5 separate regions of the Homo sapiens genome follow, and regions 1, 2, 3 and 5 are each linked to region 4. Evidence: promoter capture Hi-C in 16 types of primary human blood cells and fetal thymus (Javierre and others, 2016). All regions are on one chromosome and are shown on one strand. Each heading gives the region's core, a stretch centred on a gene start or on the middle of the fragment in contact. The rest is flanking DNA. Distances are from core to core; before and after follow the strand shown. Region 1 overlaps NCAPD3 (non-SMC condensin II complex subunit D3). Region 2 overlaps NCAPD3 (non-SMC condensin II complex subunit D3). Region 3 overlaps NCAPD3 (non-SMC condensin II complex subunit D3). Region 4 holds the start of IGSF9B (immunoglobulin superfamily member 9B). Region 5 overlaps JAM3 (junctional adhesion molecule 3).

Region 1 (4,904 bases), core at 940-3,439, 240 kb after region 4:
ACTCCTAGCCTCAAGTGATCCTCCCAACTCAGCCTCCCAAAGCAGTGAAATTATAGGAGTGAGCTACCACGCCCAGCCTTGAGGCTTCTTTATATTCTTAAAAATTACTGAGGACCCTAAAGAGATTATATCTTTTAATACTTAGAATCAGAAATTTAAACTGAGAATTGTAAAAATATTTATTAATTCATTTTAAAAGAGCAAGATATGTTACTGTTAGTACTTTTTCATAAAAAATAACTATATTTTCCAAAACAAATAAACTAAAAATAGTGAAAAGGCTGGATGTGGTGGAATGTGCCTATAATCCCAGCTACTGGGGAGACTGAGATCAGAGGATCAACTGAGCCCAGGAGTTCGAGTCCAGCCTGGGCAACACACCAAGACCCGATTTTAAAAAAAAAGAATGGCATTGTTTTAGAGTTTTGCAAACTTTAAAATGTCTGGCTTAATATAAGCCAGCTTATCTCTCATCTGGCTTATATTAAACAGGATTCTCATCTCTGTTTCTACCTGCAATCTGTTGCAATTTGATAAGTCATGGGACCACTGGAAAACTCCAATATACATTCGTGAGGAAATCAGAGTGTGGAAGGCAAATGAACACTGCACTCATTTTTACTTCAAGGACCCCTGAGGGTTCCCAAAACACACTTTGGGAACTGCTTATATATAAGAAGGCAGCTTAAAAAATAAAAGATGGAAAACAATAGAGAAAAATCAATGAAACTAAAAGTAGGTTCCTTGATAAGATCAACAAAACTAATACACCTTTAGCTAGACTGGCGAAGAAAATAAGAAAGAAAATTGAAATTGCTAAAATCAAGAAAGGAGGGACATTACTACTATTAGCCTTACATAAATAAAAAGGATTACAAAGGAATACTATGAACAATTTTATGCCAACAAATTAAGTAGCCTACATAAAAGAAACAAATTTTTAGAACGACAAGTTTTAGAAAGACACAAACTACAGAAACTGACTCAAACAGAAATAGAAAATCTGAATATACCTGTAACGAGTAAAGAAACTAAATTAGTGGCCAGGCGCGGTGGCTCACGCCTGTAATGCCAGCTCTTTGGGAGGCCGAGGTGGGTGGATCACCTGAGGTCAGGAGTTCAAGACCAGCCTGACCAACATGGTGAAACCCTATCTCTACAAAAAATACAAAAAAATTTGCCGGGTGTGGGGGCGGGTGCTTGTAGTCCCAGATACTCAGGAGGCTGAGGCAGGAGATTTGCTTGAGCTGGGAGGCAGAGGTTGCAGTGAGCCAAGACTGTGCCATTGCACTCCAGCCTGGACAACAACAGCGAAACTCCATCTCAAAAAAAAAAAAAAAAAGAAAAGAAAAGAAAGAAAAAGAAACTAAATTAGTAATCAAAAATACTTTACACACACACATACACACACACCCCTTCCTAAGGACCAGACACTTAGTGGAGAATTCTAACAAATGTTAAAGCAAAAATGAACAACAATCCTTCATGAACTCTTTCAAAAAATAGAAAAGAATACACTTTCCAGCTCATCTTAGGTGAGTACTACCCTGATAGCAAAACCAAAACATCTCAAGAAAACAACGGATATAGTTTGAGTATTTGTCCCCACCCAAACCTCATGTTGAACTGTAACACCCAGTGCTGGAGGCGGGGCCTGGTAGGGGTGTTTGGATCACTGTGGCAGATCCCTCGCAGCTTGGTGCTGTCTTCAGGACAGCAATACTGAGTGAGTTCTTGTGAGATCTGGTCATTTAAAAGTGTGTGGCACCTTCCCCCTGACTCTTTCTCCTGCTCCCACCATGTGAAACGCCTGTTCCCTTTTGGCTTTCTGCTATGATTCTAAGCTTCCTAAAGCCTCCCCAGAAACAGATGCCAGTGCTATACTTTCTGTACAGCCTGCAGAACCATGAACCAATTAAATCTCTTTTCTGATAAATTACCCAGTCTCACATCTTTTTTTTTTTTTTTTTTTTTGAGACAGAGTCTCACTCTGCTGCCCAGGATGGAGTGCAGTCGCATGATATTGGCTCACTGCAACCTCTACCTCCCAGGTTCAAGTGATTCTCCTGCCTCAGCCTCCTAAGTAGCTGAGATTACAGGCACCTGCCACCATGCCCAGCTAATTTTTGTATTTTTGGTAGAGATGGGGTTTCACCATGTTGGCCAGACTGGTCTCGAACTCCTGACCTCAAGTAATCCATCCGCCTTGGCCTCCCAAAGTGCTGGGATTACAAGCATGAGCCACCACGCCTGGCCACGTATTTCTTTATAGCAATGCAAGAATGGCTTAATACAACAGACCAATATTCCTTATGAATATGACACCAAAATTCTCAACAAAATACCAGCAAACCAAATCCAGCAAGATACAACCATGCTTGGGATTTATCCCAGGAATGAAATGTCAACCTGTGAAAAATCAATCAATGTAAATTACAGCATGGTAACAGAACAAAGAAAACCACACAATCATCTCAAAATAGATGCAGAGAAAGCATTTGCAAATTCCAACACCTTTCCATGATAAAAACTCAGCAAGCTTGAAATGGAAGGAAACTTCCTCATATTGATGAAAGTCATACTAAAAACCTCACAGCTAACGTCGTACTCAGCGGTGAAGACCAAAAGCTTTCCCCCTAAGTAAAGAAAAAAGACAAAGAAGTCTACTCTTTGACTTCTTTTCAACATCATTCCACAGACTGTAAACCAAAAATAAAATTCTAAGGCTCTCCAACCATCTGAATGGACTTCCTCCTCAGCCAGGGCACTCTAAAATTTAACCTGAAGACTGGTTCAGACCATGACGGGATGTGGGGGTCAGACATGCCTCATTATACCCTCCAGCATTAACATCAACACAGTCTTTAAGTCTGATAAGAAACGTTTACAATCTATTCTCTCTGAAGCCTACTATCTGAAGGCTTCCTCTGCAGTAATGAACTTTAGTCTCCACCACCCTTTATCTTAACCCAGACATTCCTTCCTATTGAACCCAGTTCTTTAGACAAACTCAGCCAATTTTCAACAAGAAAAATTTAAAATCTACCTATAAGCTGGAACCCTCCCCACCTTGTCCCTGCCTTTTGGGACCAAACCAATGTATCTATTAAACGTATCTGATTGATGTCTGATGCCTCCCTAAAGTGTATAAAACCAAGCTGCACCCAACCACCTTGGGCACATGTTCTCAGGACCTCCTGAGGGCTGTGTCACGGGCCATGGTCACTCACATTTGGCTCAGAATAAATGTCTTCAAATATTTTACAGAGCTTGACTCTTTCTGTCAACAAATAGGTAAGAAAAAGAAATGAAAGATATCCAGATTGGAGAGGAAGAAGTAGAACTACCTCTATTTACAGATGACTTGTTCTTATATCAAGAAAATCCTAAGGAATCCACAAAACAATCATTAGAGCTCGTAATGAGTTTGGCAAGGTTGCAGGACAGAAGATCAATTATCAAAAATAATTTGTAAAAACTAGCAATGAACAATTCAGAAATGAAATTAAGAGAGCAATTTAATTTGCAATACTATTGAAAAGAATAAAAACACTCAGGACAAAATTTAAAGAGCAACAATGGTTCACTGAAAACTACAAAACATCACTGATACAAATTAAAGACCGAAAGAAATAAAAAGACATCTGGTGTTCATGGATTAGAGGAATTAACAAACGAACATGGCAACACTCCCCAAACTGATGTACAGATCAATCCCTATCAAAATCCAAGATGGCTTTTTTTTTCTTGCAGAAATTGGCAATTAATCTTAAAATTCATATGGAAATACAAGGGACCCAGAATAGCCAAACTAATTTTAAAAAAGAACAAAGGGACAGGAGGAGAACTCATACTTCCTGATTTAAAATTGACTATCACAGGATACTATGTTAACACCAAAATATGACTCTGACATAAAAATTATTTCTGGGAAGACAGTTAAAGCAGACAATTAACAAGCAGCAGCAAACAGAGAAAAAGCTCTGTCTATCCTTTCCCTTTTCTTTATTTATATGGGCAGTATATAAATTCTCCTTTACACACGGGGTCTCTGGACCCTTATCAGCCCAGAGCAATTCACAAAACTCACTCCATTGTTTTCCTCCCACATACAGGCAGTCCCTGACTTAGGATTTTCTGATTTTGCAATAATGTGACAGCAATGCACATTCAAACCATACTTTGAGTTTTGAATTCTGCTCACTTCCTAGCTAGTGACATGCAGAATGATACACTCTCACGATGCTGGGCAGCAAGAGTAGCTCCCCGTCAGCCACCCCATCAAAAGGGGACAACAGAGAGTCTCCAGTGTACTGTACTGCCAGCATTTTTTGGATATGGTGTTTTGTGTTACGTAAGTGGAGTTCTAAGCCCTCAGTTACTTTGCATTGAGATCTCTCCCGCATAACACGCACTAGACATGTTAATAAACTTGTTTGTCTTGTTATGGGGATCCATCCCGAGGAAGAACTCATGAGGACTGAAGAAAAAATTATTTCCCCTCTCCTACGCTAGAACGCAACGGCAATCAACACAATGTGGTACATAAAGACAGATATATAGATTAATGAAATAAAATTCCATTAATATAGAATATAGAGCACACAAATAAGCTCATGAGCTTATACAAGTCAGTCAAGTGATTTTTTTACAAGGGTGCCAAGACACTCACAGGTGAAGGAACAGGCTGAAAGAAACAGTGCTATGTCAACTGGATAGTCACATGCAAAGGAGTGAAGGTGGACCCCCTATATCACACCATATTCAAAAATTAACTGAAAATTGATCAAAGACCTAAATGTGAGAGCTAAAACTATAAAACCCTTAGAAGAAAACACAGGAGTAAATCTTTGTGACTTTGGATTACACAACGATTTCTTAGCTATGTGATACCAAAAGCATGA
Region 2 (5,385 bases), core at 1,533-4,032, 220 kb after region 4:
GAATGGGTCGGAATCCTTCAGACACATGGAGATGTTGGGAATATACTTGTCCACCATGATGGTGTAGCGAATGCAGAGATCGCACATTACAATGATGACGTTGTTGCGGACAGCCACGTCCTCACACACCTCGAGCTCTCGCACCAGGGCTGGGATGCTCTTCTTTGCCAGATCCTCGTGCTGTAAGCACAGCTTACCTGGCACAGAAGACAGGAAGATGTCTCAACTGTATTCTAAATCCTAATTCCATTCCTAAATTTTCTCCAGATACATCTTGCTAATGGCTTCTATTTCATCAAAGTTAAAACATCATGCCCACAATCACAAACAACAAAAAACTAAAGGCAGACAGACCCATCTTGAATAGTCGAATAAAAATACCTAAGGAGAAATAAACTCCCCAGGAGTTATATACTATGGGATGTTCCTTTACACTAATAAAATCATCTTCCTTTTAAAGTCAACATTTGAATTTCGCAGTTATCCCCTTACCTGGAAAATGATCAGCAAAGCCTGAGAGGTGAAACATTTTACTCCTGATTATACATATCCTCTACAGATGCTAAATACCCATGCTGAATTTGAAATCTGAGCTGGGTAAATAGGAAAGAATGCATGTCCCCTTTCTTTCTTTCTTTCTTTCTTTCTTGTTCATAGTTGAAAAGGCTGCTGAGTTTTGTTTGTATGTTTCTTTTGTGCCTGGGAAATGTTTTGCAATTCTTAGGTATTTGAAAAATAACTAATATTACAAAAAAATTAATAACTTAGGTAGCATGAAATATACACTCACACTAAAGGAAAAATAAAAAAACAAAAAAACAAAATACAATTTCCAGCACAGAGGTCAGTGTTTTCAAGATTAAAAATAATTTGAGTTCATGGAGAAATATGTAAATAGTCATCTAGCCAATTCTGGAAAGTACTAAATAAACCATTTCCTTTTATGGAAAATTTATTTCTTCATTTCCAGAACTCAGTGCAGTGCCCGGCACAGAACAGACTTCGTGGGGCTGCATTATGAATATTAAAATATTACAGGAATATTCAAGTCAAGTGAAGGTATTGAAAAAAAATTACAGAAACAGGTATAATTGTAATAAATTAACATAACCCTACTGAAAAACAAAAGCTCCCTCTAGACCCTCTAGAGAGTACCTTAGTCTTGAGGACTTATCAGCCTGAGGGCTCTCATGACCAGCACGCAGTTATGCAGAGCTCAGCACTCAGATCAGAGCCACCTCTAGGAACCACATGGCTGAGAGCAGACACAGACAGGCTCCGCAGCCCCTGACACAGTCCCATGGCTGGGCTTACTTAAGACAACAGCTACACACAGAACGATGTCAAGCCCCATTCTCCCATGTTTTTCTTACCTAAGGTAATGATGGCATGTGCTCTAATCACAGAGGGCATGACAGAACCTCTGACCTGGGGGGGTGGCTGAGACGCTGGGGCCTCACTGCTGCCTTGAGATGATGGTGCTGCAAAGAAGGGAGAGAAAGTTACCGACAGAACCTTGAAACGGCATGCGTGCTACAGAGTATGATTTCAAATGCCTTACAGTGGTCAGCATCAGCAGACGAAGCCAGGACGGACTGAATCAGAAGGAAGATGCGCTTCTCCACCCTGGCTGGACACAGCTGGGCTATATCCCCTAAGGTAAAAATGTACTTCACCTACAAAGATAATTGGTTTTACAGTAAAAATAAGGCAAAAGAAAAGTGAACTCTAGCTAGATTAAGGACATGTCAATGGAGTATTTCCTTTATCCCCCAAATTTAAAACAATGTTACTAGTTTTCGTTTCATAAAAATACATGGCTATTGTAAAAACTTAGTCACTATGTAATGAAACTCATCCAAAATTAGGGCAAGCATATAATTTTATCATCTAAATCTAGACACATCTGCAAGTAAAAGGGGGTGCTATTAATAATTATTTTGTGAAAATAGGTGTACGCTAGGGTTATCTTGGGTAAACTGGGATACATCTACCTATAACCCTACCACCCAGAGACACCATTATTGTTTTTGTGTATAACTTTTTCAAAGTATTTCTATAGTCACGTGGCTTTATGTTTACTTTTCTTATACACTTACCAAGTATAGTATTTTGAAGTCTGCAATGATTACTTTGAATATTAGGCATCGTTTCATGTCAATATGTATGACACATATGTTTAATGACTACATAAGTATATGCCATTTCAAAACTAGGACTGTCGTCATAACTTACTGCACTATTCCAGTATCAATGAACACTGATGCTGTTTCCCTTTGCTAATGTTTCGATTAGCTCTGGTGAACACCTGTGTATCCTTAGATACTGCTCTCTTTCCTCAGAAGTAAAATCCAAGGTAAAGAGTATATAAAGCTATTTCACATTTTGAAACACATTTTCAAGTTGCCCTCCAGATTATTTTTCTATGTAGACCCCATCAAAAACCTACTCACAGCTGCCATGCTGTGTTTCTTCATAACATTCAGTTTAACAACTAAGTAATATTGTTCTTTTTTTATTTACACCCCAAATGAAGGGATGATGCTGAATAGTAAAATGTCAAATAAAAGCTTATTCTAGGGTAAGAAAGCCAATAACAAAGTATATGAGTTTAAAAGAATCTTGAAATACTGTATCTCTTCATTAAAAAAATATTTAAGTTCTATTTAAAGAAGCAAGAATGAAACTATGTATATAGGGCAAAACCTCTCCATATATATTTTGACTGAAGAGTAGATTTTGATGACACGGTTAACAGTTGAAAAAAACCTGGGGGAGGAGGGGTGGGGACAAGACTCACTGACCATAGTAAGCATCTTTCTTAATGTGGGCAGAAATGAGAAGAGCAAGACCCTCTAGAAGCCCTGGGCCAAGCCTGTGCTACACTCCCTGGTGCTCTTACCTAAAGCACCCAGGTTCCCATAGTGAGGCTCTGTATTCCTGATCACGTGCACAGTAGTGCCTCAGGCTCAATGGTCTTCTCTTTGAACAAATCTAAGCTTGGTCGGTGATCACTGGGCGTTAGGAGAGCTAGGCCAACAAGCAGAAACTGAACACAGAAAAGACGTGCTCCACTAATTTAAACATATGAGAAAAATGGCCCGTTTTGGTTAAATAATGATCTGTGCTGAATGGCATCAAAAAGCAGCTCATTATTTCCTTTACTGGACAAAGTCAGATGTTGGAACCAGAATTACTGCCATACATCTTATCCCCAGTCAGCCACTGAAATCAGCCCACTGTCCCGTCCTGGCTCACGGGAATTTCTTGCACCGTTTACAGTTTCTAAAGCAGGGGTGCCACAGAAAACAATCTTGGGGCTCCAAGGTCATCTGTGTTCTGAATTGTCAAATCTCTCATTTTATTTCAGTCATTACTTGGCAATTGCTCAGCACTGTTCCCCAGTTCTACTGTCTGATGTTCAAATAGCTCAGAAGACATGTTAAATTTTTAAAAAAGCAAACACACAAACCAAAAACACTATACTCACATTATTATTTCTTACCTTACATTTCTAAGCTTGACTATACCAACCTTACAACACATACTGTGTTTTCCCTACTGAAATCAGGCTTCTCATAAGACTGAACTAGATGAAGCGTATACCATTGAGTTTCCCCACCGATAAAAAGTATATAAGAAAAAAATGAATAGGTTATCAATTTAAAAATATCTTCTAAAAAGAGAAAGTAAGCTCTAGGCTAAGACAGCTCTTTTGTTAAAAGCATTTAAAGCGTACATGACAAAGTCATCTTTAATAGAACCTCACGGATAAAATGGAAGCGAAAAGAATGGTTAGGAAAAGCAGTCGCTTACCAACAGGTCTTCGTCCATATTCCCTGTTCCATTCTCCTTGAGAACGATGTTGGAGAGGCGGTGCTCGCAGGTGGAGAGTACATCCCCACACACCTGCGTCAGCAATTCCTACGGCAAGTCAAAAGTCATCTCTGAAGGGCCCCGCACATCTCCCAGACTACCCATGAAACACCATGTTCTCAGAAGAAACTATGATCTTCAAATGGATAGGCTGTAGGGGTGCTTCCTAGCTTTCCTCTTTCCCACAATTTGTCCAAAACCACAATGACATGCATTTAAGCAATCTAGCCATGAGTACTGGCTAAGTGGAATTTATAAAGAACGGTGTATATATCATCTTTCTTTTTACATTTGCCCTATAAGAGCAAAAGGCCAAATATTTACAATGACCCCATGTAGTAATTTGTAAGAGATCTATAATAGTAGTGCTCCTCCAAAAATACAGAAATAAGCTGTAGTTTTGCTGCCATATACAGATGATGAATTAACTACTGTGATAAACATTTTTTAAAGACATAAAATAGAGTTGCTACTCTTCTGAAATTTATGCATTAGGGACAAGTGTTCCGTGTCTCTCACTGATTACAATAACTTCAAGGGGTGACTTCTAGTGCACATTGGACTGTTCCTCTATGCCAAGGAAGAGAGAGAGCTCCCAACCACATTCTAGAATTCTTGGACCTCATTTTCTGTAGGAAACCATTCCAAAACACCTAGGTTGAGCTAAGGGCCTCCACCCCCTTGCTTCCATGTTACCCGATGCCGACTTTTATTTTAGGAATGATGACATTATGTTGAAATTATCTGCTGATGTGCACGCACCTCCCCCACTCCTCTGTAGTGCCTTAGGAAGGGACCTGTGTTAACCATCATCCAGTGCCTGGCAAGCCACCACTATGAGCAATGCTTTTAGTCTGACTTGCCCTAACGTATCTGGAAACTATTGGCTTTATTACTTCTAAAAGAACTATTACATTTAAAATTTTAATAGATTGCACAACCTGGACCACAACATTGGCCCAAAGAGTTTCTGCAATTCTTATGCTTGATCCCAATGAGGCCAGAACCTGGGTACTAGGACTAGTAAGTTTCGGTATCACAGAATCTGGGAAAGCTGACAAGGCCACCCAATCCTGGCATTCTCTCCACATGGCAGCCTGTTCCAAGTCCTTGTCCAGCTTCTCCTGAATACCTCCAATAACAGGGGACATGCTCTGGGGCAAGCCCACCATTTTGGGCAGACCTCAGTAAGTTTTCTCTGCAGTTCACCAAAATTTATAATTTCCATTCATTGGTCCAGATAGGTTGTCTGGGAATACCAAATAAATCCAATTCTTTTATCTGAAAGTCCTTCATAAATTTGAATTTAGCTAGGCAGCCTACCGTCCCCAACCCTTCCCTTCTCCATGCTAAAGACTCCAGGCCCTTCTGCAGTTCCTTACATAACTTGCTTTGTGATACCCTTATTTAACTGCTCTCCTCTAGTTATATTCAATTTCATCAACACTTCTCTGTAAATTTGTCACTGATACTGAACTATCAGCCAGCACACAGGATCACTGCTCCTCT
Region 3 (4,880 bases), core at 940-3,439, 210 kb after region 4:
AAGATGACTGTGTTCTTGACCCCAGCTGGGAAAGTTTTCCAGATGGACTTGAACTCCATTAAGGGAAGACGTGCTTGGCACAGTGGGCCGGCTCTTCACGGCCCTGGCTGCACATCCAAGGGAAAGAGCGGCTTTGGTGGAACCCACAGCCAACCCCTAGCTCCACAGCAGTTACCAAGGTAATGTTGGGTTTGCAGAATTTGGGGTTCTAATCATTCACGGATTGCCTGCACTGTCATAACTGGCAGAAGATCCTAAGTAATGAACTGGTAGGACAACAACCACAAAAGCACAGGCTCCACCCTTACCCTGAGATAGTGCATGAGTTCCCGCAAAGCTGGGATCTTATTTTTCTCCAGCACAGTCTTCAGGGAGATGATAATTGGAATAATATTTTCTATGAAATTCCTCTTCTGAACCTGGTAACACAAACAAAGACATGTTTTAGATGTATGAACTTCTGAAAGACAGGCCTCTCCTTGATCTAGTTCTTTGAGTAGAGCCACCCTACCACACTATGTAAGTTTATTTTTGCTTTTCATTATGATACTGGATGTAGAGGACCTCTGCTTTTCTCTGGGAGACTTTGTAAGCATTACCTCAAAACACTCTGAAGGCTTTGTAAGATAGGGTGGGGACAAATACTACTCATATATTCTAAATGGGGAAAAAGAATTAGAAACATGTTGAGTAGCTTTTGACAAAAGCCCCAAATCTCCACAGAAGACCCTGAGGGACCTTGGCTCTTGCTCCACCTTCAGTCCTCAATTCAACACCCTCCCCTTGGAACAGAAGTCAGCTCGTTCTGGCTACCCAGAGGGACACTTCGTATTCCTGCTGGTGAAGGGACAATGGTCTAAAAATGGCTAAGCATGAAGACAGCCAGCTCTGTCTCTCTCTCTGTGTACACATCTACAAAATACTATGAATTTATATATATAGTACCTGATTTGACCAAGTCTTCACACTTTACCTTGAATGATCACTAACCACAAATATTCTCCAGTGAATCTCTTTAAATTAAAAAAAAAGCACTATAGTAGCCCACATATGCAAGATTTATCCTCCTGAAGCTGAAACTACTCTTTTCCTTCTCATTTAAAGTCACTAGTGTATGTTTCTTCCTTGTAAACTACTCATTTCTAAAAAGTCTTATCAGAGTTCCTGAAACAGAAGGACAACAAGTAGAGAAATAAGCAATTTAATAAACCCAGATGTGAGCAGATGTTATGTTCAGGAATAGTCTTAAGAAGTGGCTTCCATGCATTCACTTGACAAGTATTATCAAGCACCTTCTCTGTCCAGGCAAAGAGCTAACCCTCTGAGGATGCAAAATGAAGCTAAGCATCCCTGCCCTCCAGCCACTTCTAGAAAGTGTGTGTCTCAAGGGAAGAGGTGTTAAGTGGCAGGGTGTTAGGGAATTTAGGTATGGAGATGGGATGCCTAAGGAGTGCATGGCCATCTGATGGATGATCCTGAGGATGTGTGGAGAAGGGAGGATGGGTGGGTGAGGGCGCTGCAGACTTTAGACCCAGAGGCAAGAGCACACGAGTAGGGGGCAGCTCGCAACTGAGGTGCAGATGGCAATTTGAAGTGGAGAGGTTAGAGGTGAGGATGGAGGGAGGTATGGGAAAGGTGGAAGGCACACCAGAAGTTCTTGTTTACCTTGAAAAAGAAGAATCAGGGTTTATTCAGAAGATGACAGGAAGCCACCAGCATAGTTTTTAAAGATTTCACTAGTGAAGTATAACATATGTAATAAATTTACCCATTTTAAACAAACACTTCCATGAGCTTTGACAAAAGTCTATATGGAATAACCAGCACTACAGACCACTCACCATCTATCACCCAAAAGCTTCCTGCCACCCCTCACAGTCAACCTGCCTTTAGTCTGTTTCAGATATAATAAAATGATCAAATTTGTACTTAAGAAAGACTGCTGGGCTGGGTGTGGTGGCTCATGCCTGTAATCCCAGCACTTTGGAAGGCCGAGGCGGGCAGATCACGAGATCAGGAGATTGAGACCATCCTGGCAAACACTGTGAAACCCCATCTCTACTAAAAATACAAAAAAACTAGCCGGCCGTGGTGGCTGGTGCCTGTAGTCCCAGCTACTAGGGAGGCTGAGGCAGGAGAATGGCATGAACCCAGGGGGGCAGAGCTTGCACTGAGCAGAGATCGTACCACTGCACTCCAGCCTGGGCAACAGTGTGATACTGTGTCTCAAAAAAAAAAAAAAAAAAAAAGTTAGCCAGGCACAGTGGCAGGGGCCTGTAGTCCCAGCTACTCGGGAGGCTGAGGCAGGAGAATGGCGTGAACCTGGGAGGCGGAGCTTGCAGTGAGCTGAGATCGCGCCACTGCACTCCAGCCTGGGCGACGCAGTGAGATTCTGTCTCAAAAAAAAAAAAAAAAAAAAAGAAAAAGAAAGAAAGACTGCTCTGGCAGCAAGGTGGTACATGGCCTGTGACAGAAAGAAACCAGAAACAGAAAGGGTGGTAAGGAAACCATGGAAATGGGATAAGCTTAAATAAGGTCAGAACTAGAGAGATAGATTGGTAAGAGAAAACAGGCAGGATCTTGTGGCAAGATATGATCAGAGTCTATATCCTTGGAGTCAAAAGCCTCCAGAGGCCAGGTGGGAAATACACATTGGCAATCCAGGCTAGGAGGAAAACACAGGCCTGCAGAGGCCTGTGGCAGCCAAGCTCTGCCCCAGTCATTCAGATCCAAATTCTACACTTCCTGCCAACAAAAGCCTCAGCCTGACACACCAGACTCCAGTCTGCAAGAGCACCATAAACTGTGGGAGAAAGAGGAGATGAAGAGCAGAAAGAAGAGATGACTGAGGGAGTTTTGACAGAGTAAGTCAGAGACACCCGGAGCACGTCCTGGCAGCAGGGGGACCTGAGCTCAGGCTCATGAGAAATGCTGGAGTGGGAAACAGGTTTGAGAATTGTCACCATCTGGCAAGAGTTAAAGCCATCAGTAAGAAAGAAGTCAGCACCAGAGCATGGCACCAGGATTCCAGGGAGAACACGGAAGCCAGTAGATGGTGAGAAGAGTGGGACACTCACTTGTGAAATGAGCTTAGGGGAGCTGCACACTCACTTGTGACATGAGCTTAGGGGAGCTGCACACTCACTTGTGACATGAGCTTGAGGGAGCCGCATAATCACTTGTGACATGAGCTTGGGGGAGCTGCACACTCACTTGTAAAATAAGCTTAGGGGAGCTGTACACTCACTTGCGACATGAGTTTAGGGAGCTTCACACTCACTTGTGACATGAGCTTGGGGGAGCTGCACACTCGTGAAATGAACTTAGGGGAACTTCACACTCATGAAATGACCTTAGGGGAGCTGAACACTCACGTGTGACATGAGCTTGAGGGAGCTACATACTCACTTGTGACATGAGCTTAGGGGGAGCTGCACACTCACTTGTGAGATGAGCTTAGGGGGAGGGGCACACTCACTTGTGACATAAGCTTAGGGGAGTGGCATGCTCACTTGTGACACAAACTTAGGGAAGCTGCACACCCACTTGTGAGATGAGCTTAGAGGAGCTGCACACACTTAGATTAGCTGAGGGGGAGCGGCACACTCACTTGTGAAATGAGCTTGCGGGAGCTGCACACTCACTTGTGAGATGAGCTTAGGGGAGCAGCACACTCACTTGTGAGATGAGCTGAGGAGGAGCTGCACACTTGTGAGATGAGCTTGGGGGAGCGGCACACTTGTGAGATGAGCTTAGGGGAGCAGCACGCTCACTTGTGAGATAAGCTGAGGGGGAGCTGCACACTCGCTTGTGAGATGAACTTAGGGAAGCTGCACACTCACTTGTGACATGAGCTTAAGTGGAGGGGCACACTCATGAGCTTGGGAAGGGCGCACTCGTGAGATAAGCTTCGGGGAAGGGGCACACTTCTGAGATGAGCTTAGGGGAAGAAGCACACTCGTGAGATGAGCTTAGGGGAGTGGCACACTCATGAGATGAGCTTGGGGGAGTGGCACACTTGTGAGATGAGCTTACGGGAGCAGCACACTCACTTGTGAGATGAGCTTAGGGGAGCAGCACACTCACTTGTGAGATGAGCTTGGGGGAGGGGCACACTAGTGAGATGAGCTTGGGGGAGGCGCACACTCGTGAGATGAGCTTAGGGGAGGCCCACACTCGTGAGATGAGCTCAGGGGAGCAGCATACTCATTTGTGAGATGAGCTTGGGGGAGGCGCACACTCGTGAGATGAGCTTAGGGGAGCTGCACACTCACTTGTGAGATGAGCTTGGGGGAGGTACACACTCGTGAGAGGAGCTTAGGGGAGATGCACACTCACTTGTGAGATGAGCTTGGGGGAGGCGCACACTCGTGAGATGAGCTTAGGGGAGCTGCACACTCACTAGTGAGATGAGCTTGGGGGAGGGGCACACTCACTAGTGAGATGAGCTTGGGGGAGCAGCACACTCACTTGTGAGATGAGCTTGGGGGAGGGGCACACTCAGTGAGATGAGCTTAGGGAGAGCAGCACACTCACTTGTGAGATGAGCTTGGGGGAGGCGCACACTCACTAGTGAGATGAGCTTGGGGGAGCAGCACACTCACTTGTGAGATGAGCTTGGGGGAGGGGCACACTCACTAGTGAGATGAGCTTGGGGGAGGGGCACACTCACTAGTGAGATGAGCTTGGGGGAGCAGCACACTCACTTGTGAGATGAGCTTGGGGGAGGGGCACAGTGAGATGAGCTTAGGGAGAGCAGCACACTCACTTGTGAGATGAGCTTGGGGGAGGCGCACACTCGTGAGATGAGCTTAGGGGAGCTGCACACTCACTAGTGAGATGAGCTTGGAGAGGCACACTCACTAGTGAGATGAGCTTGG
Region 4 (5,025 bases), core at 915-3,414:
TCACCCTCTGCTTCCAGACAGGGGTACATGTCCAGCCATTCCAGACAGAAGGACCCCTCTGCACCCTGAAAGAGGGCATAACCTTCATGCCAGGCAGCCTTCAATTTTGGGAAGCCCTTCCTTCTATCTTGCGATTCTGCGTGTTGCTGCAGTATAAACTCACATTCCTTTATTCTGGGCTGAAACTTGCAAAGAAGTCCATTGCCCACCCTGACTTAGGTTCGGAGGCTATTTCAGAGCCTTCCTTCAGCGTCTCTTTTCTATTCAAAGATCCCAGCTCATCCTTTTGTGCTTTCAGGGACAGTCCCATAGCAGGAACATACCAAAAACGGGAGGGGAGGAGGATGCGGGCATTGGAAGACGGCAAGGAAATGGGGGAGAGGATGAGGCTACAGGCAGACTGTCAAGCGCAGCCCGATGCACCTCACATCCACCCCCCGTTCCGTAAGCTTCCGCCATCACCCTTGCCTCAGTGTTCCCACCTGACAAATGAAGAGTTTTAAAACCGTCCGGACCAACATGTCAGTTAACAAAATCACCCTTCGCTTCGCCCTCTGCTCGTTCTGTTTTCAGACACCACCACCCCCCTCAGAAGCAGAGGCGACATATTCATTCCATTCCGGAAAGTTTCCTGAAGCACGCCCCCCTGCACAGACGAGTGACGAGGGGACCCCGTGAGAGGCGCCTCCAGCCCACCCGGCGCCCCATGCCGCTGGGAGAGGGTTCTCTGTCGGCGAGTCCTGCCTGCTGACTCCCACCCACAGCGGGTTCTCTCCCGCCGCCATCTCCTCCGGCTTGGTGAACTTGCCCGCAGCCGGGTCGTGTCTGCGCGCTGACAGCCCTGAGCTCACAGTCCTGGCACCCTCCAGGCTCCGCTCCCACTTCCATACAAGGGCCGAGAGCCGGGGGTGCCACCCAGAGGCTTGTAGGTCGCTCTGCCCATCTCCAAAGCAAAAGCCCGCGCGCTCACGCACGCATCACCCAACTCGGTGGCTCCCCCCTTGCGTCTCCCCCAGCTCAGACCCAGGAAAGCGGAAAGAGAAAATCCCCCCTCCGCTCGGATTCACAGCGTGGGGACCCCCCCTTCCCCGCCCCTCCCCTCCCCCGCCGCCGCCCCCAGCCAGCTCTGCCTCGCAGCCTGGGGAGGGCGGCGTGGGGCCCGCGCGGCTGCGGCGCGCTCCCGGGGAACTTTTGCCTGGCCGGGGCCCAGGTGCGGCTGAGAGGCGCGGGGGCCGGCGGGGTCCAGCCAAAAGCGGACACACCTCGAAGCTGGCCTCATCAATCCTCCTCTCACCGGGCGCCCCTGCTAGGGGGATCCGACCTCCAGCTGCCAAGATGTGTGGGCAGGAGGGGCGCGAGCGGAGCGATGGACGCCCGCAGGGCCGCGCGAACCCGGGGCCTTAGACGCGGGTGCCGCCAGTCCCAGGGATCCTCCGGGTCGCGCCTCCCTGCAGGCGCTCCTCGCGGCGCGGGGCTCTAGCGTGCTGCAGCCTGCCCGGAGACCGCAAACTCCCGCAGCCAGAGTTTCCCGCAGCTCTGGGAGGCGGCCGCCGGGCAGGAGGCGACGGGCTAGGCGCGCCGGTGTGCACCGTGGGGCCCGTGGTGGGCGAAGTCGACCCAGGTTCCACTGCGTCCTTTCCCCGAGTGCCCGGCAGCCCGTGGGCTCTGGCCCCTTCCCGCCCGCCCCTCCAGCCCACGGCCCCCAGGCCCTCCCCGGCAATGCTCCCGGGCCGCCTGGCCCGCGTCGGAGCCCAAGCCTCACCCGCGGGAAGGCGCGCCGGGGAGCTGGGGAACCGGGGGGCCAAGGAGCCGGGAAACCGAGGGGCCGGGCGCGAGGGGCCGAGGGCGCCGGGAGGGGCAGGGGAGGGACGCCGCACTTCAACTCACCTTCAGCCGCAAGCCCTCGGGTGCCGATCACACTTGCTATGAAAGTGGCCACATACCAAATCATAGTACTACCGCGCCAGCCCGGAGCCTCATCCTATCGCAAAGTGCTCCCGCGCCCGCACGCGCCTCGCGCCCGAGCGCCCGCCTCGCGCCCGCCTCGCGCCGCCTACGCCCCGCGCCGGTGCTCCTGCAGCCCGGGTGGCCAGCTCTCCATCCCTCCTAGGCTCCGCTCGGCTCGGCGCGCGCCTCCCCGGCCCCGGCGCAGCGGCACCTGCACTACTCGCCCGGGCGGAGCGCAGCCAGGTCCACGGTGAAGCCTAGCCGGGCCGGGCCTCCGGAACCGCCCCCGCCGCCCGCCTATTGGGCGCCGCCCGCAAGCCGGGGGTCCGATTGGCTCAGCCTTCCGCCCGTCGCGGCGCGAAGGAGGCGAGCCCATTTCAAGGTGCGTTGAAGTGTGGCGAGCACAGAGCCGCAGAATCATGCGCATTGCCGGGGAGAAGGTGGTATAGCGTCTCTGCCCGCTTCTCTCTCGGCTCACACTGCGTGGCAAGTTTCTGGTGAGGGAAATGGTAGCTTCTAACGGGACCCTGGCGGGTCTCAATTACCCCGGACAGGTCTGAGGGAAGTGGAGCCCCCGCCCACTCATGGAACCCAACATCCGGTTTCCATCCGGCAAAAAGCAGTTCCCGAGAGGACCATGCTGATTCTATGATGGGGAAACCCAGGAGCCGGCGGCCCGGGAGAGCCGGGGAACGTCCTTCGCCGGAGATCTTTTCAAAGAGGTCACGCGCCGCCTCCCCACCCCGTCTCCCTCCGCACCCAGACACGTCCCCAGAGCAGCGCACCACCCCCTCCAAACGTGATGCAGACCGGGGGATGACTAAAATGACCTCTCAAAGTCGCTAAGATTTAGAGTGAGTCATTGGCTCAGCTGCGAAGTGCCACAGACCCCTCAGGAACACTCGTGCACACACACTCCACCCCCAGTGCTGGTCACTGCTGCTCATCATTACTGAATCCCGACTCCAAGCAGTCAAAGTTGGGTCTTTTTCCCACTTCTCCTGATAAAGGCTGCTTCCTCACGCACATGGTTCCTCCCCTCTCCACCTTACTCGGAGCCCAGCCCCGACTCGGCCGCATGAAACCAAGATGGGTTTGGGGGAAGCTTTAGGAGTCTGGGATGGAGGAGACCCAGGGAAAGGGAAGGAGCTTCTCATCCTACAGAGGAATGTAAATAGGAAACTGGAAGGTCTTCGTATGTTCCAGTCTCCCTACCCTAGCCTGTCTGCTTCCCCTCCCCCAATACAGTTGTATTTGCAGAAGAAATAAATGAGTGTCATGGAAACATCTACTACAAACAATCACCTCACACCAGCGCTCAGAGGCTGCAGTGAAGATGTTTGTTCTTTCAAGGAGTGAAGGCAGTGGTAAGAATCACACCGCTCCCTGGGATGGGCTGTTGGCCAAGGAAGGAAGGCAGAGGGTCAGCGAGCGAGAGCTCAGGAATTTCATCCTCTCAAAGCACTCGTTAGCCACAAAGCCCTGGCTCCAGGACATGAAGCTCCCAAAACAACAAGAAGGAGACTTGCTTCTGGGAAAGCGTGCACACAGGTACACACACATGCACAAAAAGTGGCCTTGAACACCGGAGGTGGAGCATTCCCTGACACCGGAAGCCTCTTAGCTCACCGCCAGCTGGGAGGCAGAAAGAGGCCCCCAACAGAGCAGTCAGTGAGCACATGGATAAAGGTCGAGGGCCTGGATAGATCCAGAGAACCAGGACTGTTGAATAACCTTCTACCCTACCCACCCCTCCACCTGTGCAAACACACTCAAGATGCATAACTTGGGGCCATCTCTCCCTGAGCCATGATTTTGGTTCTCTTCTTGGGCAAAGATGCCTTTCTGGGGACAATGAAGTGAGCTGCTCCAGGTCTCATTGATGCAGTGATCTCCAGGTCTCATTGATGCAGTGATTTCCAGGTGGCATGACCCAGAATAACTCCACCCCCAACACACACACACACATATACATACACACACACTTACACACTTTCCCAGGGCCCCGGGACTGTAAAGACATATTGGAATCCATTTGCAGAATTGGTCATAACAGGATCCTTCTCCTCCCACAACCTCTAAGCAGCTAACTGTGGCCTAGAGAAAAGTGCCGGATCCACAAAGCCTGGCCCTAGTTCCTCACCATTGTTAGGTATGGAGTGGGAAACATCAGGTCTCAGAGAAACCCTCTCCTAGGGGCCTGCAGGGCAAGGAAAAAGATGGAGCCACTCTCACCACCCATCTTGATTGCTTTGTCTGGCCATCCATTTGTCCTACTCAGGGTTCTGCCTCCTGCTAGGAAAGTAGAACTGTCTGTCAGAATGGATGGCGGGCATGGAGGCTCATGCCAGTAGTCTCAGCTCCTCAGGAGGCTGAAGCAGGAGTATTGCCTGAGCACAGGAGTTCTAGGCTCAGTGATCATGCCACTGCACTCCAGCCTGGGTGACAGAATGAGACCCTGTTAAAAAACAAACAAAAACAACAACAAAAGTGTCTGTCAAATTGGAAAGAAAAAAACACGTAACAAGCTTTAGAACATGAGTTGGGTTGGGAAGGGGTTCGAAGGATCTATCTAAAGAGGAGAACAAATTTCTTCTGGATAATTCTACTGGAAACAGAGTGGAACAAGGGATGAAGGCAGAGAGGAAGGGGAAGAAAATTAAGATACAAAGGGAAAAGTTCGTCATCATCATCATCATTAGACATGTCTCAACTGGGTTTCAGATCAGCTAAAGAGAGATATACTGTATCAGCTTACAGTGAGGAGTGAGTCTGATCAAATCTTTTCCTCTTGGCGTATGGCTGAGCTTTGGACCCAGAAAGGATGGTTGCCCCTTCCTAGAATAGACACATCCAGTTGAGTGTTCAAGGGGAGCATGGACCCCAGATGTCCAAAAGGGACATGAGGGAGGAACATGAGCCACTTCCCTGCGCAGCTCCTAGGTGTACCTGAATGTCATCGATGTCACTAATAAATGCAGTAATATATCCAGGAATGCTATGTATATCAGATACGGGAGTGTCTGTCATCTTCTTTTAAGAGGTACTGACTTTTTGGAAATACAAAACAATAGTCTT
Region 5 (5,486 bases), core at 35-2,534, 140 kb after region 4:
TACAGCACTTGCTCAGGAACAGGTTGTATTGACTCCTTCATTTGAGATTCGGTGAAATTCGCAAGTACCTCTGGAATCATTTGATGAACCTCTTTGGAGCATTAGTGATGCAACTTAATGTCTTTGGCAGGGACATTTCTTCTCACATCTTATTGATACTGGGTTTGAGGAGCAGGCTGACTTCTGGTTGTGTAGTCAGCTCTCGGTTTTTTTCTACTAATGGAGAAGGGAGGCATTATAGGGAATGGAAAATTCAAGTTGCAAAGCATTAAAAACAATTTAAAATTATGTTTCATTTAAACTAACAATTGCTGTATTTCTGACCAAATAATGTTTACTTCAGGATAATGTTTTCTTGATTTATTTTTATATTACAAGTTGCCACTTTATAAATTCTACAGATCATGGAAAGTAGTTTAAAAGAGTGATCTTCAGATTTTTAAATTTAAAGTCTATTCTTAATTTTCTTTTATATATATGTATATATATATTTATATACACACACTTTGCACTGTAAGATATTGAGTTTATGACATTAAGGACTCTGGCCCTTCAGTTCTTGAAAATTTAGTGCTTATAAAATTGTGAGGACTATATTCTAATCATTTTCAGTCAGTGAAAAACCTATATACTTTATGAAGCACGCAGGAAACATCTCCTTTTCTGCTTAGTTCCCCTAAAAATGTGGATCAGATCCATCTCCTGGGCCTAGTCAGTATTGATTGAGTGTATACCCAGGGCATCGTGCTAAAGTGTCACCCAAGCTCTGCTCTCCAGGGGAAGAAGAGCTAGCCATTCCTTTTACTGTGCATGCATATGTATATAGCTCACCTATATCCAGAAAACTTAGTTTACAAATGGACTGCTTTTTAGGGAAGGAGTGGACACAAAAGTTCAACTTCAGAGAGGAAAACTAAGAGCAATGCCAAATTAACTGAAATCTTCTGTTTTGAAAGAGGTCTTTTAATTTAAAAAAAGCTAGTTCTTGGAAAAAGCACAATAATCAAAACCAAATGTACCTCATTAGAAAGTTCACGTGAGATAATTTGGGATTTGCAAAATTAGTTTTAATCAATTGTGAAGGACAGCAAGACTATTTCTACCTGTGCCAGGTAGAAATAGTATGTATCTAAAGTCAGAACCATTAGTGTCGGGGCAAGTATAGATACTCATTCTCTGTAGTTGGGTCAGTTGTCTTCCTTATATGTTCGCCTTAGCTAAAATGGCAGAGAGAAATCCTTGTTGCATCATAACAAGGACATTGTCAAAGTACACTGAACTCATGAATTAGACAAATAGCAGCATTGTATCTTCTTTTTCTGGGCCTGATTTTGAGGTATACTGCACTTCCTAAGGGTGATTTCAGAGCTAGCTTGCAGGTGGAGCTCCACCTGCTGATACTTGTGAGGGATAGCTCAGTAAGCACTCCTTCAGCTAGCATGTTTCCCACTAACATTCACACTGATACTCCAGCCTAGAGAAAGACCTTTGGGTTACACCAGTCTCCAGAAAGCCTTCATTTAAATGCAACTAGGGAGAGGCGTGGTGGCTCACCACCTGTAGTCCCAGCACCTTGGGAGGCCAAGGTGGGCAGATTGCTTGAGCCCAGGAGTTCAAGACCAGCCTGGGAAATATGATGAAATCCCATCTCTGCAAAAAATACAAAAATTAGCCATGTGTGGTGGTGCATGCCTGTAGTCCTTGTATGCTTGGGAGGCTGAAGTGGGAGGATTACCTGAGCCTGGGGTTTCGAGGCTGCAGTGAGCTGTGATCATGCCACTGTACTCCAGCCTCAGTGACAGGGTGAGACCCTATTTCAAAAAATAAAAATAAAAATAATACTACCAGGTTGCATGGGGGAGGAATGAGGTAATTGTAAAATGAAGGTTTCAGGGAAAAGCCTGGGCAAGCAGCTCTTGGCCTGGGAAAGGCAGGCCCAGGAACAGATTTCAGAGTTGTCCCAACAAGTTGGGTGAAATCTGTTTCTATTTGCTTCATTTTCTTTTTCTCTCCTACTCCTCACTACTTAGAAGGGGATTTGAGGGACCCATTTAGATCCTTTTCTCACTGTCTCGCCCTCTCTCTGATGGTGGTATTGAGGATAAGACAGTATTTGTCATCTGTAATTAACTGTACTGCATTTGTAAGGCAAGTTGTGCTGTACTTGATTTTTATGTTTCTTTCAAGATTTCTGCCCTTTGCCTCCTGTATTTTTCTATTTATTTGTTTATTTATTTAGGGACAGAATCTCGCTCTGTCACCCGCCCAGGCTGGAGTGCAATGGTGCGATCTTGGGTCACTGCAACCTCCACCTCTTGGTCTCAAGCAATTCTTCTGCCTCAGCCTCCTGAGTAGCTGGGATTACAGGTGTGCGCCACCACGCCTGGCTAATTTTTGAATTTTTAGTAGAGACGGGGTTTCACCATGTTGGTCAGGCTGGTCTCGAACTCCAGACCTCGTCATCCGCCTGCCTTGGCCTCCCAAAGTGCTGGGATTACAGGCGTGAGCCACCGCGCCCGGCTTGCTTCCTTTATTTTTCTAACCTCATCATTTTCTGCTTTGCTCAGTGGAGATTTTCCAATAATGTCACCCAAAATATACTTTTAAGTCAATGTGTGCTATTTTTTAAGTCACTTCTGACTTTAATGTTAGACCTCTCCTTTGATGAAAGTTAAATCTCATGACATGGGAGAGTGACATTATATCTTTAATTAAGATGTTAAATTCTTCTCAAATTCTGTTTCTGATTAGAAAAGTACTTTGAGGTGAATCCCCCTTTCCTCCTTAAAAAAAAAATAGTGGTCAGTTCCTATCTCTAGGTCTTCAGTGAAATGATCCCATTTTTCTGATCCAAACAAGTTTCTGTGGCTCATCTGCTCTGCAGAGCCCTGTGTCTTCTGAGGAACGATTGCTTTCTGCATAACATACAGTGTTCTTTGCTGCTTTCCACCCACAGAGCCTTTCTTGCTGAGGAGGAGGTGTGATATAGGAAAATTATGAGGGCTTTTCAAACTCGCTTGCATTGATGGCCCAGATGGTGAGGAAAATCCCTTGGGGAGCTAAAAATTGAATGGGTTATAGCAGATTTTTAAAATCCCTAATTAGACTCTCCTTCTCTTTAAGACCACTTTTGAGTTACCACTGTATTTATATATCTGAGTCCTGTTTCCCAACTGCTAGTGAGCTCCTTGAGGGCATCCTTGGGTCTGTACACCACTGAAATCTCAGCACCTAGAAAGCAGTTCTCTAATAGTGGCTGATACCATGTGAATGCATTCTCTGCGTCAGGTCCTGTACTCAGCACTTTACGTATGCTCTCTTACTCTTACAACTGGAGGAGAAAGGTATTATAATTATCCCCATCGTATGGATGAGAAAACAGAAAGATTGGTGAACATCCAAGCCAGAAACACTTGATAAGCAGTAGAGATAGACTTCAAACTCAGATGTTCTAGAGTTTCAGCTCTTAACCACTATATTATACTGCTTCCTTACTAGACAAACACTTAGTTTTAAAGTAAATATTTTTTGAGTAAAAAAGTGAATGAAGTAAAGTTAACTAAAGTTAATTTCCTGAAATCACAGTGATGTTTATGTCTTCTTTCAATAAACCATTCTCGGTATAAGTGGTCAGCCAGGATACATGTTGCTGTGCCTGGTGCTCCTTGTAACTCAGGAAGATATTGCCCCATTCTAAACAGCCAGCATGGGGTAACAGTGTAAGCACTGTGAACATTTCTTCTCTGTTCTTACCCATCTTCAAACAGAAACAACCAGGAGCAGTTTAACAGTGATACTTGAGTTATGAACTTCATACATATTGCTTAATTGTAATGGCAAATTAATGTGTTAACATTTATAGAATGGTACTGTCATTGAAGTTTGAATTTAAATGTGGGTTTTAACCCAGTTCTATAATAATTGCTGTGCTCTGGGAAACACTGAATCTTTTCAAGGAGGACAGCTATTTAACTATAAGTAGAGTCATTTGAAATGCAGAAGACCAGAATATTTATTCAAAGAGTGGTAGCAAAGAAGTGAGATGAGAACTGAGGTGGAGTGTTCTTTCCATCCTAGTGGAGAGAACACAGAGCTGTGAGTCAGGGTATCTGGAATCTAAGCATGTCTCCAGGCTTAAGTTTCTATTGTGAGTTTAGCTAAGGCATTCCTGTTGATAATACTATTGCTCTAATACCAAAAAGTGTCCACTAGAAAATAGAGTAACCTTTGTGCCTTTGTAATGATAGTGTTCTTTTGGTATAATACTCTACTACCACAAGTATTGCCTTTTATCATCTTAAAAACAAATCTGATCATATTTCTCCCCTTATTTATTCTTTTTCCTCCAGTTTTTATCGAGTGCTAGCTATGTGCCAGGAATTTATAAGTCCTTTATGTGTGATAACTCATTTATAAGCTCATGCCTGTAATCCTAGTATTTTGGGGGGCTGAGGTGAGAGGATTGCCTGAGGTCAGGAGTTTGAGACTAGCTTGGGCAAGATAGCAAGACCGCATTTTTACAAAAAATTTAAAAATTAGGTGTGGGGTACACATCTGTATTCCCAAGAGTCTGAGGTGGGAGAATTGCTTGAGCACAGGAGTTTGAGGCTACAGGGAGTTGTGATCATGCCACTGCAATCCAGCCTGGGTGACAAAGTGAGACCCTGTCTGTAAAAATTATAGTAACCTATTTAATTATCTCAGCCACCTTACGAAGTAGGCACTAATTTAGACATTTCATAGATGAGAAAACTGAGGCACAGTAACATACCCAACGTAGCATGGTAAGGGATGGAGTTCATATAAAACCCAGACAGTTCAGCAGTATTCGCTGTCCTGCAGCCTCCGCTGCTGATAACCCAGGCAAACAGGGTCTGGAGTGGACCTCCAGCAAACTCCAACAGACTTGCAGCTGAGGGTCCTGACTGTTAGAAGGAAAACTAACAAACAGAAAGGACATCCACACCAAAACCCCATCTGTATGTCACCATCATCGAGGACCAAAGGTAGATAAAACCACAAAGATGGGGAAAAAACAGAGCAGAAAAGCTGAAAATTCTAAAAATCAGAGCGCTTCTCCCCCTCCAAAGGACCGCAGCTCCTCACCAGCAACGGAACAAAGCTGGACACAGAATGACTTTGATGAGTTGAGAGAAGAAGGCTTCAGAGAATCAGACTTCTCCGAGCTAAAGGAGGAAGTTCGAACCCATCGCAAAGAAGCTAAAAACCTTGAAAAAAGATTAGACAAATGGCTAACTAGAGTAACCAGTGTAGAGAAGTCCTTAAATGACCTGATGGAGCTGAAAACCATGGCATGAGAACTACGTGACGAATGCACAAGCTTTAGTAGCTGATTCAATCAACTGGAAGAAAGGGTATCAGTGATTGAAGATCAAATGAATGAAATGAAGCGAGAAGAGAAGTTTAGAGAAAAAAGTAAAAAGAAACAAACACAACCTCCAAGAAATATGGGACTATGTGAAAAG

What was found. Contacts are between HindIII fragments. The CHiCAGO score rates a contact against its expected background, and 5 or more counts as called.
Region 1: a contact is called between a fragment that was not itself captured here and the fragment with the promoter of IGSF9B in region 4, in 4 of 17 cell types (naive CD8 T cells, total CD4 T cells, activated CD4 T cells and 1 more). The highest score is 6.8, in naive CD8 T cells.
Region 2: a fragment that was not itself captured here is called in contact with the fragment with the promoter of IGSF9B in region 4 in 7 of 17 cell types (activated CD4 T cells, naive CD8 T cells, naive CD4 T cells and 4 more); the score reaches 14.1 in activated CD4 T cells.
Region 3: a contact is called between a fragment that was not itself captured here and the fragment with the promoter of IGSF9B in region 4, in 4 of 17 cell types (naive CD4 T cells, naive CD8 T cells, non-activated CD4 T cells and 1 more). The highest score is 6.2, in naive CD4 T cells.
Region 5: a fragment that was not itself captured here is called in contact with the fragment with the promoter of IGSF9B in region 4 in 1 of 17 cell types (total CD4 T cells); the score reaches 6.6 in total CD4 T cells.

What each region holds. Positions count from the first base shown.
Region 1 is chr11:134,195,321-134,200,224 of GRCh38, forward strand. The region is part of intron 13 of NCAPD3 (non-SMC condensin II complex subunit D3); the gene reads right to left. Among named protein-coding and RNA genes, the nearest start is that of NCAPD3, 26 kb to the right of the region's middle. RefSeq lists a silencer at 2,770-2,970. The HindIII fragment of the contact is 695 bases long and covers 1,843-2,537 here.
Region 2 is chr11:134,177,261-134,182,645 of GRCh38, forward strand. It overlaps NCAPD3 (non-SMC condensin II complex subunit D3), which reads right to left. Exons shown (of 35, transcript NM_015261.3): 20 at 3,817-3,924; 21 at 1,562-1,676; 22 at 1,374-1,481; 23 at 1-197. Among named protein-coding and RNA genes, the nearest start is that of SNORD153, 29 kb to the left of the region's middle. The HindIII fragment of the contact is 429 bases long and covers 2,569-2,997 here.
Region 3 is chr11:134,161,473-134,166,352 of GRCh38, forward strand. It overlaps NCAPD3 (non-SMC condensin II complex subunit D3), which reads right to left. Exons shown (of 35, transcript NM_015261.3): 28 at 309-419. Among named protein-coding and RNA genes, the nearest start is that of SNORD153, 13 kb to the left of the region's middle. The HindIII fragment of the contact is 667 bases long and covers 1,857-2,523 here.
Region 4 is chr11:133,954,804-133,959,828 of GRCh38, forward strand. IGSF9B (immunoglobulin superfamily member 9B) reads right to left here and starts at 2,165. Exons shown (of 20, transcript NM_001277285.4): 1 at 1,888-2,165. The coding sequence starts at 1,951. RefSeq lists a silencer at 1,994-2,343. The HindIII fragment of the contact is 2,603 bases long and covers 448-3,050 here.
Region 5 is chr11:134,097,383-134,102,868 of GRCh38, forward strand. All of the region lies in intron 1 of JAM3 (junctional adhesion molecule 3), which reads left to right. Among named protein-coding and RNA genes, the nearest start is that of JAM3, 31 kb to the left of the region's middle. The HindIII fragment of the contact is 8,110 bases long and covers 1-5,339 here.